2 separate regions of the Homo sapiens genome follow, and region 1 is linked to region 2. Evidence: promoter capture Hi-C in human tissues and cell types (Jung and others, 2019). All regions are on one chromosome and are shown on one strand. The core of a region is centred on a gene start or on the middle of the fragment in contact, and the rest is flanking DNA. Distances in the headings are between cores, read along the strand shown. Region 1 overlaps RSRC2 (arginine and serine rich coiled-coil 2). Region 2 holds the start of B3GNT4 (UDP-GlcNAc:betaGal beta-1,3-N-acetylglucosaminyltransferase 4).

Region 1 (2,890 bases), core at 9-2,508, 320 kb after region 2:
AGAAAATAAACAGGTTGAATTATATTTGATATGTTCCAACATGGTGAAACCCAGTCTCTACTAAAAATACAAAAATAAGCTAGGCGTGGTGGCGCACGCCTATAATCCCAGCTACTCAGGAGGCTGAGGCAGAAGAACTGCCTGAACCCAGCAGATGGAGGTTGCATTGGGCTGAGAGTGTGTCAATTTTTGTATTTTTGGTCCTGGCTCAGGTGATCTGCCTGCCTTGGCCTCCCAAAGTGCTGGCATTACAGGCTTGAGCCACCATGCCCAGCCAACAAACTAAATGTATGTGTCTTCTTATACAACAGGTCTACATATCTTATACAAATGCTGAGAGTTGTAACCACCTTTAAGAATTCATACCTGACTTTCGTTTTCTTTCTCTTGACCTTGATCGTGATCTTGAATAATGATGTTTTGAAGCTCTAGGAGAAACAGATACTTCTGACTGCTCTTTTTTCTTATCTCTATCTGGTGATGTCTTTTCTGGGGCTAGTCCATCTCGCTCTGTATCACTAGCCTAAAAGTTTAAAAACAAATGATTAAAGTTCTTAATTACATTTTAAATGTTTTCAATTTCTTAAAAGAGGGACAAAGGGAGGGAAGATAGCCCCCCACAATCAATAAATCAGAATGCCTGCTTTCCAAGTAACTAAATGTGCTTTGTACACTAATAAGGCTGAATGGCTTGAAATGACGAACCTGATACTAAAGCAAGACCTACATATTTAGACTGATGTATCTTTAATTTTCTAACGATGATTTGTATAACTTTTAAAACATGGGGTGGGGTGGGGGAGGAATAAGGGCTCCAAGTAGTTCTAATAAGCATTCAAGCAGAGAAAATAGTCCTTTTTAGATGTGTGAATGCATTTAGCTGACTTTACCAATACTTTTAAATTAGCATACATGTCAAACATCAAAAATGAGTTGTTAAAGCTTAAAGATACTCAAGACGATAAAATCTTAAAACAATGCCCTAAGAATATTATAAAATAATAAACAGAAAATTAACTTACCTAAGTGAGAACCTCATCTTAATGTCATTAACCCTCTTTAATGAAAACAGCCCCTTGGCACAGTGCTGCTGCAAAATATGGTCTGCCTCTCCTCACATGTGCTCTGGGCTATGAAAACATTAAGTTGTTTCTGCTTTAAAGCATTTTATAAGTAATTATTACAATATAAATTTTACAAGTTTCAACTAATGCAGAAGGTAGACAATGCTCGGCTATCTGACCAGAGAAGATAACATGAAAATAAAATAATTGATACACCTGGGGAATTGATTACTTAGGAAGGGTTGGCAAGCTATGGTCCTCATTCTGTTTCTGTATGGCCTTGAGCTAGGAATGGTTTTTTACGTTTTTTAAAACTATTTTAGGCATATTTAATAAATAACTTCAGTAAATAGCACTGTAAAGACTGAACTGTTAAAACTAAAGGCACTTAAAACGCCAGTGTTGTGGCTCATGCCTGTAATCCTAGCACTTTGGGAGGTTGAGGCAGGCGGATAACCTGAGGTCAGGAGTTTGAGACCAGCCTAGCCAACATGGTAAAACCCTGCTTCTACTAAAAACACAAAAATTAGCCAAGAGTGGTGGGGCGTGCCTGTAATCCCAGCAACTCAGGAGGTTGAGACAGGAGAATGGCTTGAACCCATGAGGCAGACGTTGAAGTGAGCTAAGATTGCGCCACTGCCCCTCCAGCCTGGGAAAGAATGTGACAGAGACTGCACATGGCCCACAAAGCCAAAAATATTTACCGTCTGGCCCTTTACAGAAACAGTTTATGGACTTTTCACGTATAACATCAAACGGAATCTGGATTGAATAAATAGGGAATCGATAGTCTTCAGCAGGAGGAATCACATTAGAGAACTTCCTCCTTTAGGAAAGTTAGTCCAGAAAATGAATACCAAATATCAAGTACAATAAATGGGGGTATTGTATTTTAACAAATTTTAAACAAGTATCAAGTACAATAAATGGGTGTATTGTACTTTAATAAATGAAGTTGTGAGAGGTCGAGTTACTTCAACAAGTATTTACTAAGGGTCAAAAATGTGCCAAAACCAATGCTAGACTTAGGGAATAAAATGATAAATTAAAAACAGAAAGGTTTTGCAGTTCAATTATGAGATGAAAGACATAAATTACGTGTTATTCCTCTAACAATGGCACAAAAAGAACAGTAAGAAATTAACTACCAGGGAGGCTCTCATGCCAGCATATTGTATATGTACTTATTTCTCCAGTCTGGGTGACTTCTGGAACCATAAAATTTTTATGCTGAAAGGTTTTCACCCCTTAGAATAGAGTTCAACTTTCTCGTTTCACAGATGAGATCCAGCAACATTAGCTGACTTGCTTAAAATGATACTGCATCTCCGTATCTTTACTGTTTACTACTAATAAATAATGCTGTATCATTAAGGATGATTCTGATTTTTCACAATGAATTCTGGACACTTTTTTTTTTCATCGTTATCCTTGAGGACTATTTCAGACTCATTTATTACTTGCTGAGTGTTTGTACAGCTTACACTTGGTAAACAGAAGTGATCTCGAAAATTTTAAGCACCGCTATTACTTCTCTCAGTTGCACGACACTTTTGCCAGAGACAGAATTCCTTAACTAGTGGCAAATCCCATTTACTTTTGCAGAGAACAAGACTAGAATCGAAAACAACCTTCTCATGGAAAATCTAGTGCTTAGCCTAGGCAGTTTTCAGGCAATGGTTTATCTAACTTTAACTTCATGCTTAACATCACAAAGCTGGACAACAGAGAAACCTCCCTGTGACATAGGCTAACTTAAACTTACATCATCAACCATTTTCATCTGTAAAATATACTACAGAGCAACAACAAAAACCATCTTAACA
Region 2 (2,895 bases), core at 345-2,844:
GAGGGCATATGCTGCTGGACTTCAAAACCCATGCCTATATGAACATGTGATTTGTGATACTTATCTGTGGGTTAAGATGGCCTTAAAAAGGTTTTTTTTTTTTTAATCTCTTTAATGTTTGGCTTAATTGAAGACAGCTGGATTCTTACAGCTACTTCTGCAGTCAACTGCTTGCAATATGTTGCTGTAATTGACGTGCACAAAGAAAATCCAACCTCAGGCCCATAATTGGAAAAGAGGGAGTATTTTAATAGACCTTAAAATAATATAATTTCTTTAATATTACACCAAATTTGACAAGTGGTAATTTCTTAAAGGTTGTTACAATGTGAAAACAATCTATATTGAATTTTTCATAATCAGATTAAAATTCATTAATCTAGTTTGCATTTTGAACGGATATTTTACCATGCAGTTTGTAACATGCATGAGTTACTTGTAAACTACAGGTTAACAGACTTATGCAGATATTCCAACAGTTGACACCTGTCACTATACATTTTCCAAAGATCACGTTCTTTACTATCACCACCCACATCATTAGAAAGGTCTTTGCGTATTGGAAAATTGGTAAATTCATGGTGGCAGATACAATGTTGTCTCATTTTTAGGGCAAATGTTATACATTTATTGAAATGCTTTCAGTTGTTTCCCCTGAAGTGCTATAATTACTTCATTTTTAAGAAAATATCTGCAGCTGGGCTCGGTAGTGTACGCCTGTGATCCTAGCACGTTGGGAGGCCTAGGCAGGCGGATCACTTGAGGTCAGGAGTTCGAGACCAGGCTGGCCAACATGGTGAAACCCCGTCTCTACTAAAACTACAAAAAATAGCCGGTCGTGGTGACAGGCGCCTGTAATCCCAGCTACTTGGAGGCTGACGCAGGAGAATCGCTTGAACCTGGGAGGCGGAGGTTGCAGTGAGCCGGGATCATGCCACCGCACTCCAGCCTGGGCGACGGAGCACGACACTGTCTCAAAGCAAAAAGCAGCCAGTCTTGCAACTCAAACAGCTGCGATTTATTAAATGATCTAATTAAATACAATTTAATTTTATTTCTTATTACTGTTAACACCCGAGGACCAAAACTGTGCTCCCGCTGGGACAGGGTCCAGGGCTTGCATATGGGATGGGTCAGGGCGGCCGAGAACGCCAGCCCATCCGTCTCCCGGGGCTCATGCTCGCACTTAAATTTTCTCAGAAAAGCCGAAAGCCGTGATTCCGATCTACGAAGGCGATTACCACCCTGAGCCCCTGACCGTAGAGGTGCAGATCCAGCTGAACCAGTGCCGCTCGGCGGAGGAGGCTCTGCGCATGTTCGCCGTGTAGGGCGTGGGCAGTAAAGGCTGTTCCCAGCACTCCCGCCTCCGCTTCTGTCCCGCCGCACGCGTCGGGGGGCGGGTGTGGCGCCGGCGTCCTGGGGAGGAGGAGCAGCCTCTGCCCGACCCGGCTCGTGCGGACCCCAGGACCGGGCGCGGGACGCGTGCGTCCAGCCTCCGGCGCTGCGGAGACCCGCGGCTGGGTCCGGGGAGGCCCCAAACCCGCCCCCGCCAGAACCCCGCCCCAAATTCCCACCTCCTCCAGAAGCCCCGCCCACTCCCGAGCCCCGAGAGCTCCGCGCACCTGGGCGCCATCCGCCCTGGCTCCGCTGCACGAGCTCCACGCCCGTACCCCGGCGTCACGCTCAGGTAGGTTGGGGGCCGGGACGCCGCTGCTGTGAGGGAGGCTGGGTCACCGTGCAGGGAGGGGCGTCGCCAGGGCGGCCGTGCCTTTGCACCCCGCGGCCCGCTCCCCGGTCCCCCAGGGTCCCCGCGAGGACGCCGGCCCCGCCCGGGTGCGGCGCGAGTCTGGCCTCGGCGGGCACGGCTCGGGGCCCACGGGCCGCTCGGCTTCGGTTCTCCAGGCTGGGGACAGAGGCTGGAGCCGGGCGCGGTAGACCCCGCCAGCCTGGGCCGCCCGCGCCCGACGCGCAGCGCTGCTGCCAACCCCGGCCCGGGGGTCCCCGCAGAGTGGGTCTCTGCTGCCGTCAGCCCTTCGGAGACTGTCGCGTTGAAAGAATGAACCAGAGTTCGCCCCCTGCCCGCGCCAGGGCGTTTTGGGTCACCGAGTCCTGTGGGGATCCGAGGCGGCTGCCGCCCAAGGCCGAGCGCAGCCTCAGGACCCGCGCCCCACCAGACGGGGTCGTGCGCTCCGCGGCGGGTGGAGAGCCGGGCTCTGGGGTCTCCGCGGCTCGGAGGGCGGCGGGGCGAGGCCGTGCGGCCAGCGCCTGGGGACGCCCGCGGCGGGACAGGGGCCACCCGGGCCGCGGCGCAGCCTGGGCTGAAACCTCCTGGGACGGAACCAAGCCACCTGCTGTGCGCCCTTCTCGGTGAATGGCACCGCCGCCCGCCCGGGCCTCTCGTCCACAGCCCGCGGTGCTCGCACACCTGAGACTCATCTCGCTTCGACCCCGCCGCCGCCGCCGCCCGGCATCCTGAGCACGGAGACAGTCTCCAGCTGCCGTTCATGCTTCCTCCCCAGCCTTCCGCAGCCCACCAGGGAAGGGGCGGTAGGAGTGGCCTTTTACCAAAGGTCAGATTCTTTCACCGCCTCTGCCAGACCCCCTTGTCCCCCACCCCCGCATAGATCTCCAGGGGGCTCAGAAAACTCTGGCCGGTGGCTCACGCCTGTAGTCCCAACGCTTTGGGAGGCCAAGGCGGGAGGATCGCTTGAGGCCAGGAGTTCCAGACCAGCCCAGGCAACAAAAGATACCACATCTCTACAAAAAATAAATTAGCCGGGCCCTGCACGCCTGTAGTCCCAGCTACTGGGGAGGCCGAGGCCGGAGGATCGCTTGAACCCAGGAGTTCCAGGCTGCAGTGAGCTATAATTGTGCCACTGCACTAGAGTCTGGGTG

What was found. Contacts are between HindIII fragments. The study calls those that stand out against the background at their distance.
Region 1: a fragment that was not itself captured here is called in contact with the fragment with the promoter of B3GNT4 in region 2 in 1 of the 25 tissues and cell types used here (dorsolateral prefrontal cortex).

Annotation. Positions count from the first base shown.
Region 1 is chr12:122,521,777-122,524,666 of GRCh38, forward strand. RSRC2 (arginine and serine rich coiled-coil 2) reads right to left here. Exons shown (of 10, transcript NM_023012.6): 2 at 367-523. Among named protein-coding and RNA genes, the nearest start is that of RSRC2, 3.7 kb to the right of the region's middle. The HindIII fragment of the contact is 5,664 bases long and covers 1-2,890 here.
Region 2 is chr12:122,202,115-122,205,009 of GRCh38, forward strand. B3GNT4 (UDP-GlcNAc:betaGal beta-1,3-N-acetylglucosaminyltransferase 4) reads left to right here and starts at 1,595. Exons shown (of 3, transcript NM_030765.4): 1 at 1,595-1,687; 2 at 2,408-2,570. The coding sequence starts at 2,505. LRRC43 (leucine rich repeat containing 43) reads left to right here. Exons shown (of 12, transcript NM_001098519.2): 12 at 1,201-1,357. The coding sequence ends at 1,328. RefSeq lists a silencer at 1,280-1,909. The HindIII fragment of the contact is 16,495 bases long and covers 1-2,895 here.